3 separate regions of the Homo sapiens genome follow, and regions 2 and 3 are each linked to region 1. The links are contacts of gene promoters, found by promoter capture Hi-C in blood cells and fetal thymus (Javierre and others, 2016). All regions are on one chromosome and are shown on one strand. Each heading gives the region's core, a stretch centred on a gene start or on the middle of the fragment in contact. The rest is flanking DNA. Distances are from core to core; before and after follow the strand shown. Region 1 holds the start of PRXL2A (peroxiredoxin like 2A). Region 2 overlaps SH2D4B (SH2 domain containing 4B). Region 3 overlaps SH2D4B (SH2 domain containing 4B).

Evidence for each region. The method cuts DNA at HindIII sites, captures the fragments that hold promoters and counts their contacts. A CHiCAGO score of 5 or more calls a contact.
Region 2: a contact is called between a fragment that was not itself captured here and the fragment with the promoter of PRXL2A in region 1, in 1 of 17 cell types (monocytes). The highest score is 5.0, in monocytes.
Region 3: a fragment that was not itself captured here is called in contact with the fragment with the promoter of PRXL2A in region 1 in 1 of 17 cell types (M1 macrophages); the score reaches 5.4 in M1 macrophages.

Annotation. Positions count from the first base shown.
Region 1 is chr10:80,405,408-80,410,061 of GRCh38, forward strand. It overlaps PRXL2A (peroxiredoxin like 2A), which reads left to right and starts at 3,144. Exons shown (of 6, transcript NM_032333.5): 1 at 3,144-3,236. RefSeq lists a silencer at 2,923-3,212 and an enhancer at 3,498-4,091. The HindIII fragment of the contact is 7,614 bases long and covers 606-4,654 here.
Region 2 is chr10:80,549,138-80,553,689 of GRCh38, forward strand. All of the region lies in intron 1 of SH2D4B (SH2 domain containing 4B), which reads left to right. Among named protein-coding and RNA genes, the nearest start is that of SH2D4B, 14 kb to the left of the region's middle. The HindIII fragment of the contact is 1,877 bases long and covers 1,719-3,595 here.
Region 3 is chr10:80,631,974-80,636,158 of GRCh38, forward strand. It overlaps SH2D4B (SH2 domain containing 4B), which reads left to right. Exons shown (of 8, transcript NM_001388272.1): 7 at 2,312-2,532. All of the region lies in intron 1 of LOC105378387 (a long non-coding RNA gene), which reads right to left. Among named protein-coding and RNA genes, the nearest start is that of LINC02655, 16 kb to the right of the region's middle. The HindIII fragment of the contact is 1,207 bases long and covers 1,760-2,966 here.

The sequences.
Region 1 (4,654 bases), core at 1,894-4,393:
ATACCACCATCTAGCCCTCAGTCAGCCATCGGTTCACCTGGTAAACCATTGGCCACATTTATGGAAGGTTTTAGAAAGAGGTCCCTATTGACTTTGCTTTGCTTTGAGACACACTGTGGAAGTATAGGATTTTTTATGCTTAAAACAAATAAGAAAGAGCTGAATTCAGGGATATTGGCATATAGAGAAAATATTTGAAGCTGATCTATGCACATCTATTTTTGAGATTCACATACAAGTCTTGTTCTTGATTTCGCTTTTACCCATCCACAGAATGGTAACCTGGGCCTGACATATTGAAGTGAAGTATCAGTTTTTGCTCTATTTTCATCTTGATGCTAGCTGCTTCCTGACTGTTCCCAGCGAGCCCAGACACCACAGGGCCATAAGCTTAAAAAGATCATGTTACTTCAGTCACTGCTGAGTAGCAGACGAAGCTGAAGCCAGCTGAATCTAGAAGTGCTATGACGCTGAAAAAGTCAGGAGTCTTTACCCAGATCTGCCTCCTGCAAGCAGTGTTTTCTGCCTGCCCTATGGGACTTGTGAGGGACAGAAAAGTTTCCCAGCCCCTGTCAAGATGGTAACATTATCTAAAGTTATCACAAAGCTTCTAGTCAACCTTAATTTCTACCACCTGAAATTCAGAACCTAAGGCTATTTTACAATCTTTACAAAATTTAAATTATTTTTCTCTTAAAAGCTGGGCAGGTTGGTGGGTTTTCTTGGTTTATTCTTCAGGTTTTTTGTTTTGGTTTGGTTTTTGGTTTTAGTCCTTGAGCTTTGTAAATAAGTTTTCCTGCGCCTGCTTGCCTGTAACTTATTTTTCTGGTCTAATGACTGTTTTTTAATGAGTTCAGCCTGTGCTTTCTTGTACAAAAAGAAACGTGGGCATGTGAGGAGCATATTAATTAGCTATCAGATGTAGCCTGGTTTTTGAAGTCCAGATCTTCAGGATGTTACCGAAGTGTAAATATAAGCATGACTTTTGCACGTGATTAGTAATTACATCACAGTTAAAGCCTCAGGGGACCTTCCACCCCAGAATTCTGCTATCCTCAACCCCTGAATGGCTCTGTCATTAATGGTCAGTCTCCAAGAACTCATTTCCCAAGGAAATGACTTCCTGTTTTGTTCTAAGTGGCCTTCCCTGCAAACCCTCCTCACCTTTGAACTTCCTATTTTGGGATGGAAAGATTGACCCTTCTCCCGCTCCTCTTCACAAGGTAAGGAGAAACAAGGGAGAAGAAAGAAAGGTCCTCTGGAGAGAGATATATGTATCATACATATCTTATACATATATCATATATATCTTATATATCTCATATATATCTTATATATATCTTATATATCATATATATATATATATATATATATATATATATAAAACTACACCCGCATTGCACCAAAGTATACGAAATATTTTCTGGCCTTCAAATCATATGCCTAACTCCTGCAGGAAAACTGCATGGGCACTCAGGCTGATCTCCCTTACCCCACAACTTAGATCCACCTCTCACGTTTTCTAAGTTTATTTCCACGCTGTCCCTGGGCCAGGCTCTAGGGTCCCAGAGGTGAAGTGGAGGAATTCACAGTTTGGTTGAGGAGAGACCCCCTTGAATAGATCAAGCTCCCCAAGTGTTGCTGTAAGTTTACATGGAACATGGAGTCTGAGTGGGAAGTCAGGGAGGTGAATCACGGAAGCCTTTGGACTTTGTACACCTGTGGGCAGCTCCCAGATGAAGGGGGGAAGGTGTTGCAGGCAAATGACCACCTTTGACGGGCGGACATCGGCCTGCTTTGCCACTTCACCTTATGCTGCCCTGTGACTGGTCTTTGCACTGTGTCACCGATATGTCTTTTTTTTTTTTTTTTGAGACGGAATCTCACTCTGTCACCCAGGCTGGAGTGTAGTGGCACCATCTCGGCTCACTGCAACCTCCACCTCCGGGGTTCAAGCTATTCTCCTGCCTCAGCCTCTTGAGTAGCTGGGACTACGGGTGCGCGCCACCACACCCGGCTAATTTTTGTATTTTTAGTAGAGACGAGGTTTTGCCATGTTGGTCAGGCTGGTCTCGAACTCCTGCCCTCAAGTGATCTGCCCGCCTTGGCTTCCCAAAGTGTTGGGATTACAGGCATGAGACACCGAGCCCGGCCAACCACTAATATGTATCGTGAGTCAGCTCTGCTGTCTCTGAAAGTCCAACCTCCTACTTTTTGTTTTTTGTTGTTAAGACAGGGTCTTTTTTTTGTTTTTTAAAGACAGGCTGGAGTGCAGTGGCGCGATCTGGGCTCACTGCAACCTCCGCCTCCCGGGTTCAAGCGATCCTCCCACCTCAGCTCCAGAGTAGCTGGAAATACAGGCACGCGCCACTATGCCTGGCTAGTTTTTGTTTTTTACGTAGAGATGGAGTCTTACTATGGTGCCCAGACTGGTCTTGAACTCCTGGGCTCAAGCGATCCTCCCAAAGCCCTGAGATTACAGGCGTGAGCCAGCGCGCCGGACACAACCTCCTACTTTCATGAAAGAGTGGGCACTTCCAACAGGAGGAGTAAGTGGATGAGCGGTGTGTGACACACCCGCCTCAGCGTCGCCCGGAGTCCGCAAGGCTGCGGCTCACCGTTCTCTGCCCCATAGCTGGCATTGTGGAGTGAAAGGGAACGTGGGTGGAGGATTGAGGTTGGAAATTCTGAATCTGTACATACAGCTTGAAGGGGCTCATCGAATGTGTCGGTCCTTTAGATTCCCCCTGCCCATGGAGGTTAAAAAAAAAAAAAAAACCTATCAAAAGAGCTATTCAAAACCAGGCTGAAGATTGGAAGGAAGTTGGCCAGCCTCGGCTGCAGGACAGGTGCTTCCAGGCTCCATTAGGGGTGTCCAGCGCCTTCTTTTGCCCTAGGCAGCGCCCTGAAGAACGCGTCGGGGCCTCGGTTCGCGGACTTGAGGAGTGGACCGACCGAGCGCTGTGCGTAAAAGGACCGCTGGGGCACACGCCCGAGCGCCACCGGAGCTAGGAGACCGCGGCCCGGAGGTCGGCGAGTCGGGGGCAGGCCCGGAGCTCCTCCCACGGGGGGCGGGGCGGGTCACATGGCGGTGGCGCGGTAGCGCGCGATGCAGCACAGGCTAGAGGCTGCGCAAGCGCGGGGCCCGCCCCTGGGACCCTCCGGGCCGGGCGGTTTGGCCCCTTAGCGCCCGGGCGTCGGGGCGGTAAAAGGCCGGCAGAAGGGAGGCACTTGAGGTAGGTGCTGCGCGCCGGGGCTCCGCGAGGCACGTGATGTCCGTAGGCGGGGCCTGCCGCGGCGTAGGTGGGGAAACTGAGGCAGTGCAGGGCCGGTAGGGTGGGTGCTGGGCTGGTGAGGCGCGCCCCTCGGGCCCGCGCCAACTTTCTTAGGAGCCGCCGCAGCGCTGGCGCTCCCTCCGAGGACGACGACCCTTCCGCCACCCTGCGTGGCGGCCGATGGAAAAACCCTGCGCCCAGACGTCGGAGAACGGAGACGGGGACCCGGCGCTGCTGCGGCGGGCTAGGGCCCCCTCTGTCCACGCCCGCAAGCCTTGAGTGACGCCGGTGGCGCCAACCTTCGCGAATTGTTGGGACAAAGAACAGAGGAGAGGGCCCTGCCCTGGAGCATGGGCCCGGGGGCCGCCCTGCTGGACCAGCCCCAGGTGCGGACCTGGCAGTCCTCGTCCTCGTCTCTGTGCCCGCTTAGGGTCGTGTCTTTTAAGAGGGCACGGTTTCTAGCGTTGTTCAGCGTTTCGGAGGCACCTGTTCCCCCTCTTTCCCAAGAGTCACAAACGCCTGACTTTAAATTGGGTAGAGCCCAGTTGTAAACTTAACAGCCCTGCTGAGGTCTAGGAATGAAAAGATGAACAATCTGCCCCCAGGGTTGTTGCTGGAGCGGGAGGTGAAGGCGCAGGTGGAGATGGTTAGAGGCAAAGGAAGGGAAGTCAAGGCCCAGCCGGTCCAGGGCTGTGGGAAGGAGGCACACCCGGGAGTCCACTGCCGGACCGGGGTTCCCAGCTGCTCCTGCGCCTCTTTTCCTTGCCACATCATGCTGTCTGCACAGCCCAGCAACCCAGAACTCAGCTTTTTTGTTTGTTTTATTTTAATGTATTTTCCTTTGAACCTGGCAGGTGGTTTTTCAAAAAGAAAATAATCAAGATTTGTTTTGAAAAGCATTGTGAAAAAGTCAGCTTGAATAGTCTTGAATGCTCCTGCTCGGGCCCAGCTTTGGAGAATGAGGATTGGGATTTCCACTGCAGACCCCGACTCGTTACCATACTCATTCATCAGAAAACTCTTCATTTTGTGTACAAATAACGTTTTGAGGGTAATCATTGCTCTAGAAATGAAGAATTATACATCGTATTTATTGCACTTTTTGTAAGGTACCTCACAAGGCACCTCCTATACATTTAATCCTTTGATTCTTGCAACTCTGTAGAAGGTAATTAAGGAAGCATTCCCATTTTACTGATGCAAAACAGTTCCTTGTCCAGGTTTATACAGCTTGCAAGAATTAAAGTTAGATATTATTCTTGGTGTGGGCCTTTCCTATATCCCCGTCTTTTATAAGAGCATGTCATTTAGTTGAGACCTTCTGCATTACTTCTGAAGGGGTACAAAAGACATTTCTGATGATTTTCTCATCTCGTGTC
Region 2 (4,552 bases), core at 1,407-3,906, 140 kb after region 1:
GCTCCCTCCTGAGCCAGGCAGTGGAACAAAGGCTAGGGATCTCCGAGAGCTGTGATGGGACTTGATTGTGTGTGTGTGTGTGTGTGTGTGTGTGTGTGTGTGTGTGTGAGTTTGGCATGTGTTCTGCTGGCGTTTGGGGCATGGAGAGAGAGCTGGGGCCAGACCTTTCTGTTCCATCTGCCTGGACCTTGAGATCCGGTATGGCCCTGCCGTGCAGTGGGTGCTTCGCCCAGGTTTGTGGCCTTGACATTGATGGGGCCTCACTTTCTGGCTCCCAGCCTCCTGTTCTGCCTCCATACAGCAGCCAGAAAGGTGAGACAGCTGTGCAGATGAGTGAGCTCCTCAGGGGTGTAGTCTCAGCATCTCCCCTGGAGCTCAGACCCTTCATCTGTAATGGGCACGGTCTTTACTGAAACCACCTCCCTCCAGGGGAGGTTGTGGGGATTAAGTGAGCCATGTGCAAAGTGCCTGAAGTCCACCCGGCGTGCACAGCACCTGCCGAGGGCTTCTGGTTCCTTTGCAGCCTGCCACCTTGCTCTTGTTTCCTTCCTGCCTTCCTCAGGCCCAGCAGTGAGGTTCTTAGTGAGGCAGCTCCACTTGCAAAGGCCACCAGGGCCCACTGCTCCCCATCTTTAGCACCAGTGCTTTCCGAAGCTGCACAACCTCGACTTACCAGGTGGGCAGTGAGAGGAGCCAGAGCAGAGGCTGCTGTGAGCAGGCATGGGGTCACCCACAGTCACCGGTGCTGATGGCACTTGGTACCTGGCAGGCATGGGCATCCCCAGGGGTGAGGGTGGTTTCTGTGGCTGTGGAGAAAGATTAATATTTAATTAATTTAATTAATTAACAATTAATAATTAATTGTCAGCTTTGAATAATCTGTGTCCACAAGGAAAGAACTTGCAGCCTTAGTCAGCTAAGGGCTTTTGGTGGGGAGCGGGGGGTGGGGGAAAGGGGTCCCTGGAAGCTAAGGAGGATGGGTCGGATGGCAGAGCAAGAAGTAAAGGCAGCTGCATTCTATACTATGAAGGAGAACTCCTCCAGATGGAGGGCCTGTCAGGCCTGTGCTAGGCCCTTTAAGGGCCTCAGCTTATCTGACCCCTCAGTGACCTGGAAGATGCACCCCTATGCATTTCATAAAATCTAAGAGTGCTTGATTGAAAGACACATCATTGGCTGGGCACAGTGGCTCACACCTGTAATCCCAGCACTTTGGGAGGCTGAGGTGGGCGGATCACGAGGTCAGGAGATCGAGACCATCCTGGCTAACATGGTGAAACCCCATCTCTACTAAAAGTACAAAAAAACTAGCCGGGCATGGTGGCAGGCGCCTATAGTCCCAGCTACTCGGGAGGCTGAGGCAGGAGAATGGCGTGAACCCAGGAGGTGGAGCTTGCAGTGAGCCCATATCGCGCCACTGCACTCCGGCCTGGGTGACAGAGTGAGATTCCGTCTCAAAAAAAAAGAGAAAGACACATCATTATTTTATGTCCTACTAAGAAAGCTGTAAATTAAACTATGATACATCAATGGTTGTAAGTACATCCTGATTGAAGAAATGTTAAAATAGGTGTCTTTGAATCAATGAATAAGGTATTATTTCCATTTTAGTTGAGCAAGTGGAATCTCAGAGAGGTTTAGCAACCTGCTCTAAAAAACAAGTAGGAGTTGGAATTAGAATCTGATCCTAGGCCTGTTCTTCCTGCCACAACATAGGAAGCTTCCTCCACACTGTTTCTGCCATGATGAAAAACATATATTGCAGGTGGTTAAAGATCAACACAAAAAAAGGAGAAACAAAATTATCAAAGTAATAAAAGAAAATATGAGACTCTGTTGGGGGAGAGTGAAGCCTTTCTTAGAATAAAGCACAACAAGGAAAAGAAAAAGAAAAAGAAACATGACTTGATTTTTATTTTATTTTATTTTTTTTGAGACGGAGTCTCACTCTGTTGCCCAGGCTGGAGTGTAGTGGCGCGATTTCGGCTCACTGCAAGCTCTACCTCCCGGGCTCACGCCATTCTCCTGCCTCAGCCTCCTGAGTAGCTGGGACTACAGGCACCCTCCACCATGCCCGGCTAATATTTTTTGTATTTTTAGTAGAGATGGGGTTTCACCATGTTAGCCAGGATGGTCTCGATCTCCTGACCTCGTGATCTGCCTGCCTCGGCCTCCCAAAGTGCTGGGATTACAGATGTGAGCCACCGCGCCTGGCCAACATAACTTGATTTTTAAAAATCTTAATAAAAGATGCCAAACTTAAAAAAAGAATGAAACTGGATTTAAATAGAAAAATATTTGCAACATATATAACAGGCAAAGGATTAGTATCCAGAAAATATAATGAAGTGCTCCAAATCAACTAGCAAAAGACAAACAACCAATAGAAAAATGAAGGAAAAAAAATGAACAAGCAATTGCAGGAGGGAAATTTCAAATCACAATGAAGATGCGAAAATACATTCAACTTCACTAATAAACCACTTCCACTCAAATTAAAGCAATCAGATTAGCAAGAGTTAGGAGAGTCTAAGAGTAGCCATGTTAATGAGGACCCAGGGAAAGAGATTCTCTCCCACACTACAAAGAGTGAGACACACAGCGGGACTGAGTGCCTGTCCCTTTCCAATGCTTCTGCAGGTTCCCGAAGAGCTTGGGCAGATGGGGATGGGGTGGTGGTGTCTTAGTCCAGGCTGCTATAAGAAATTATCACACACTGAGTAGTTTAAACAACAAACATTTCTCACAGCCCTGGACTCTGGATGTCTGAGGTCAGGGAGCCAGCATGGTCAGGGGTCTGATGAGAGCCCTCTTCCTGGATGCCAATGGCTGACTTCTGTATCCTTACATGGTGGAAAGAAAGTGTGCTAGCTCTCTGGCCTCTTCTTATAAAGGCACTAATCCCATTCATGAAAGTTCCATTTTGTTGACCTAATTACCTCTTGCCCTAATTACCTTCCAAAGGCCATACCTCCTAATACCATTACACTGGGACTAGGGTTTCAATGTATGAATTGCAGGGGTACACAAACATTCAGAATTTCAGACCATTGTTAGAGAACAGAGGCTCATGCCCAGGGTCACACAGCTGGTCAGTGATCAGTGGACCAGCAGGGAGCCTGAGTTTCGGTGCAGTTTCCCTTTCCTTCCCTTCTCCCAGCTGCTGCCAAAAGCCCAGGGACTGTTTGAACAGGACTGACTTTTGCTCCACTTTGCATGGAGGGAGGTGCCTCTCCTGCGCTACTTCAGGACTCCAGCTGGTGGATGCTGACCTGAGCTGCCCTAGCTTCCTGTCTCTCCCCTGGGATTCTTTTCTGTCCCCTCATTTCAGGATGCTAACGCTGTCCCCTCCCTGCTTCCCCATCTCTGCACCTCCCTGCTTCCACTTCCAGCCTGGAGGACAGCAGGGGCAGCTCGTGAGAAAGGCCACCAGCTGCTTATCTCGGCACTCCCTGTAACCCAATCCCAGCTCTCACTCCAGCTCAGAGGAGCTGGGTGGAAGTAGCAGGTTGTAGGCATCTACCTGTCCCTCTGCTATCTCTCCGAGTGGCTAGCATTACTGCTTTCCAGGTTTTTCTCACCTAAGAATCAGCAAAGCTTCCTATGGTTTTCCCATTTGGAAACAGATTTTGCCTTAGATGTTGGGGTCTAAATTCTTTGGGTTCATTTTCATGTGTATTTACCCCATGTCGTGTTAGAATTACATAACCCTAGGCTTTAGGCATTTCTTTCTCCCCCTCTCTCTCTTTCTTTCTCTCTCTCTCTCTCTCTTGCTCTCTCTCTCTTTCTTTCTTTGAGACGGAGTTTTGCTCTTGCTGCCCAGGCTGGAGTACAATGGCACGATCTTGGCTCACTGCAACCTCTGCCTCCCGGATTCAAGTGATTCTCCTGCTTCAGCCTCCCGAGTAGCTGGGATTACAGGTGCCCGCCACCACACCTGGCTAATTTTTTATATTTTTTAGTAGAGATGGGGTTTCACCATGTTGGCCAGGCAGGTCTTGAACTCCTGACCTCAGGTGATCCACCCACCATGGCCTCCCAAAGTGTTGGGATTACAGGTGTGAGCCACCATGCCTGGCTGGCATCATTTATTTCTATCCTAGTATTTCACTGGTGTGCTTTTTTTCTGGGCACCATGGTGGGATTCTCACCCTCAAAACTGTGAGATGCTAAAGATTTAGGATGTCCTGTCCCTTGTCCCCAGGACATGTGCAGCTCCCTCATTTTACAGATTAAGCGATTTTGATCCCAGAGATTTTAAGGAACAGGACTGACAGCAGGGTCTGGGCTCCTCACTGGCACATTGATTCTGCTGTGTCTCTGTATTGAACAAATTGCAGACAGGGAAGTAGGGGTTGGAGGTGGGGCGTTGTGGATTTCCCAATGACAGTTACACCAAGTCCTGCTACACGTGGGGCATCATGGCCCCGGTGGGAGCTGTTCTTGGGTTTGTTCTTGTTCTAGCAAGAGAGGGTCCAGGCTTCATAGGAGGTGTGTCCTTGAGCTGGGGTAGAGGGGGCGCCATTTCACAGTTACAAGGTTGGAGGGAGTG
Region 3 (4,185 bases), core at 1,113-3,612, 230 kb after region 1:
GTCACCCAGGCTAGAGTATGGTAGCATGATCACACATCACTGCAGCCTTGAACTTCTGGGCACAAATGATCCTCTTGCCTCGGCCTCCCAAGTGGGTGTAGCATCTTCATGCCCAAGTTATTTTTAATTTTTTTGTGGAGATAGTTGTCTCCACAAAAAGTGTGGAGACAACAACATGGGCTATGTTGCCCAGGCTGATCTTGAACTACTGGGCTCAGGTGATCCTCCCACCTCAGTCTCCCAAAGTGCTGAGATTACAGGTCTGAGCTATTATACCCAGCCAAGAGGGTAGATTTTTAAGTGTTCTTACCACAAAAAATATGTGAGGTAAAGCGTATGTTAATCTTAAGTAGATTGATTTAGCCATCCCGCAGTGCATACATATATCAAAATGTCATGTACACCATAAATATATATAATTTTTATTCATCAATGAAAAAGTAATAAACGTTACAATAAAGATACTTGTTTAAAAGAAAAAAAGTTGAATCGTATATAATTTGACTGTAGTCTCCCACCCTAGTAACACTCCCCTCCTCTCCAACCCTAGCCCCGCTACCATATCAGCTTGAGGTGCTTGGAGTGGGGATGAGGGTGACATCTTCTGGTCCCTCTTCCTCCCAGGCCCTGGCCCTGCGTCTGGCCCCCCTTACTTATCTCCCTGCTGCAGCCTCTTTTAGGGCCCGGGTGTTCTGGTGTTGGGGCAGGGAGGTAGGTGAAGGACAGTGCCAACTTTTGAGGGATCCTGGACTTTCCCTTCCGGTCCTCTTTTGTCTGTCCCTACTTTTTTGCATGAAGCCCCCAAGGCCTTCTGGGGGGAAGCAGCGGGGTGCATCCTCCCTCTTGCATGGGCCAGTGTTTATTTTTCAGGTGTCCTGTGGCGAAAGGGCTCCTCACTTCCTTCCTTGTCTTACTCTTCTTCCTTTTCTGCTTGTAGAGCTTGGCTGGGGAGGGGTGGCTGGCTTGGATGCCTCTTGCTGTAAATCCTGGGCAAGGAGGAAATAGGTGGCCCCTGGTTGCGCCAATTGTCTTTAAAGGGTGCAGCATTTGGCAGTGTGGTTGCCTCTGTGTCCTATGCCTTGGGCACAAGGGAAGTCTCGAGTGTGCCCTGGGAGGCAGGAGAGTGATGGGAGGGGAGCCTGACTGCGGCTCGCTCGGGAGTGGCTTCGGGGATTGGGGAGAAGTCACAGGTGTGCTGAGCCTCTCAGGGTCATGGAGATGGGCAGCCCAGCCACTCTGTCCCCATGCCTGTCACTGATAGTGTGGAAAGGGTAAGTCCATGGGTGAGCAAAGGGACAATGTGTTGCAATTCACCTCTCCTCCAGAATAACAGATGCTAACAGGATCCAGCATCTCCACAGCTATTCTCTATGTATGAAATGAGTTTGAATACTTTATTCAACTTGAAAGTCATAACATACCTTCTAAGTATTTGGGTTATGATCATCTAAATGTCAAAGGACACTGGAGACCTTGAGGGCTTGGCTGGAAATTCCATAGCCAGGTTGGCAGAGGTCGGGGGTGGGGGTAATCCAGGTCTTCTGGCTTCCCCTCCTCTTCCCACCTACTTGCCTCTGGAACCTGTTCTACATCACGCCTCCTATATCACCCAGATGACAGCGGCTTCCTGAGAGCATTTCAGGGGATTGCTACCAGCATATCAACGACTCCAAGGCCAACCAGAATTCCAAATTGTGATGAAACTGCATTGTGTAGGAGTGCAAGTCCTTAGAAAGTTTTGATCTCTGAGCTGAAGTGAAGCTTGATTCTATGCCCCTATTAAGAAACTTTTTGCCTGGTGTCCACAGGTATTTGGAAGAAGTCTTTTTACTTTTTAAGGGAAACCCCTATTTTTAGGTGCTTATTTATGGTACTAGAGAAATAAGTGAGTTAGTCATCAGCAGCCATTCTGGACTAGTCTTTAAAGCAGGCCTCTTAAGGCTTTTCACAAGCCTGTTGACTTATATTTATAATCAATAATGCTATAATCACAGCTCACTACTAATTCCTTGCTTACCCAATTAATCCAAATCACCCTGGCTCAATGTGGAGGAAAGCATGCTCAACTCACGTCCTAGTAGAAACTCTGCCCCCAGGCTCACGGCGGGTGGCGCTGGGCCAAGATGCCCTCTCTGTGGAAGGAGGCATGTGCTTGGCCAGCCCTTGGGGCTCTTTCCTTCCTGCCACCCTGGACTGTGTGGATGGCATGTGCACTGAGCCACAGGGTGAGGGGCAGGGAGGAGTGGAGAATCGTGGGGGAGGCAGTCGCAGAACCTGCTGTGTTTTTTTGTTTTTTTCTATTTTAAATCAGGAATTATTAGCCGAGAAGATGCAGAAGCTCTCCTGGAGAACATGACTGAGGGAGCATTCCTGGTCCGGGTCAGTGAGAAAATCTGGGGTTACACCCTCTCCTACCGCCTGCAGAAAGGGTTCAAACACTTTCTTGTGGATGCTTCTGGGGATTTTTACAGCTTCCTGGGAGTGGACCCCAATCGCCATGCAACGCTCACGGATCTCGTTGATTTCCATAAGGTATCCCTCACAGGGATACTAATGGGGGGGAGGGGGAACTGGTGGAAATTGGAGCTGAAGAGAGAGCTAGAGCAAGAGAAGCAAGGCTGCTGGCTCTGGGCAGTGGGGCTGGAGGGTCTCAGAGATGTAGAGCATCAGGGCAGAAGAGACCAGAGGTTGTCCACACGGGGCCCGAGGGCCCACTGTTCTGCTCTCTGCTTCACTCTCTGGGGCATGCGGGCACCTCTCACCCTGGTCCTCAGGCCTCTTCTCACCTTGGGTACCTGAGTGCTCCCTCCTGTTAACACAAGGACTGGATGATCATCCCTTTCTCCAAGCCTGGGTCTCATCTCCAACTCATTCCCAAGAACGTCTCTCATGAGGACCTCCAAGCCAGACCTCTAGCAGCTTCTGAGAGTTAGCTGAAGTGCAGTAGGCAACCCTGTGATTAGAGAAGCTTTTCTAGTGGTGGAGTTACCATGTCTCTTATTTGAACTCCAGCTTAACCACTTAGTACATGTGTGACCTTGAGCCAGCACCTTAGTCTCACCAAACGTCAGCGTCCTAGCCAGGCAAATGGATGTGAATAATACTTAGCTCGGACCCTGTGAGCATTAAATGAAGTCAAGTACAGAGCAGCGCTTTGTGACTGTGAAGTGCTTATGGAAAGTCTTGTTTCTCAGCATTCTTTTTGTTATTTGTCCTCCTGCCATGGACCCTATATTGGAAAAGATGTTGTCTTCCAAGCAGTGTATGTAGTAAGAAGCAACGTTTATGTTCGTGTGGCCGTTGGCATCATTAGTAACTGGGAGAAAGCCAGAGGTGGAACTCAGTGACCTGGAAGGGCAGGACGAAGGATTCCGAGGGGCAGAGTGGTGGTAGCTCCGGCGTCCGACATCTAACCAAGCTTTGTGGGTGTAGATGGTTTCACAGAATGACTTGACGGTCTCACTGGGGTTTTGGTATAATAGGGACTCTTAGGTTTGTATTGCTTTCTCTTTGTCTCTTCATGGAAGTCCCTAGAAATTCAGGGACAGCCCTTGACCTTATGAATAATACACATGGAGAATCACCTATTCACAGATACTCGGGCACTGAGTGTGGAGTACTGCCTGGAAACTGGACTAACCAGGATCAAGGTTGATTTCTACGTGTTGGAAAGAGCCTTCTAACAGAGGAAAGCGAAAGGGAGGGGATGTGAGGACATTGACACATTCTCTGTGTCAAGCACTGAACCTATTGCTCTACATCCATGCTCTTATTTAATCTTACCAATAGATCTGTGAGGGAGGCATCTTTTTATTTATTTATTTTGTTCATTTTTTAAATTATACTTTAGGTTCTAGGGTACATGTGCACAACCTGCAGGTTTGTTACACAGGTATACATGTGCCATGTTAGTTTGCTGCACCCATTAACTCGTCATTTACGTTAGGTATTTCTCCTAATGCTATCACTCCCCCTTCCCCCAACCGCACAACAGGCCCCAGTGTCTGATGTTCCCTGCCCTGTGTCCAAGTGTTCTCATTGTTCACTTCCCACCTATGAGTGAGAACATGCGGTGTTTGGTTTTCTGTCCTTGTGATAGTTTGCGAGAATGATGGTTTCCAGCTTCATCCATGTCCCTGCAAAGGACAGGAACTCATCCTTTTTTATGGCTGCATAGTATTCCAT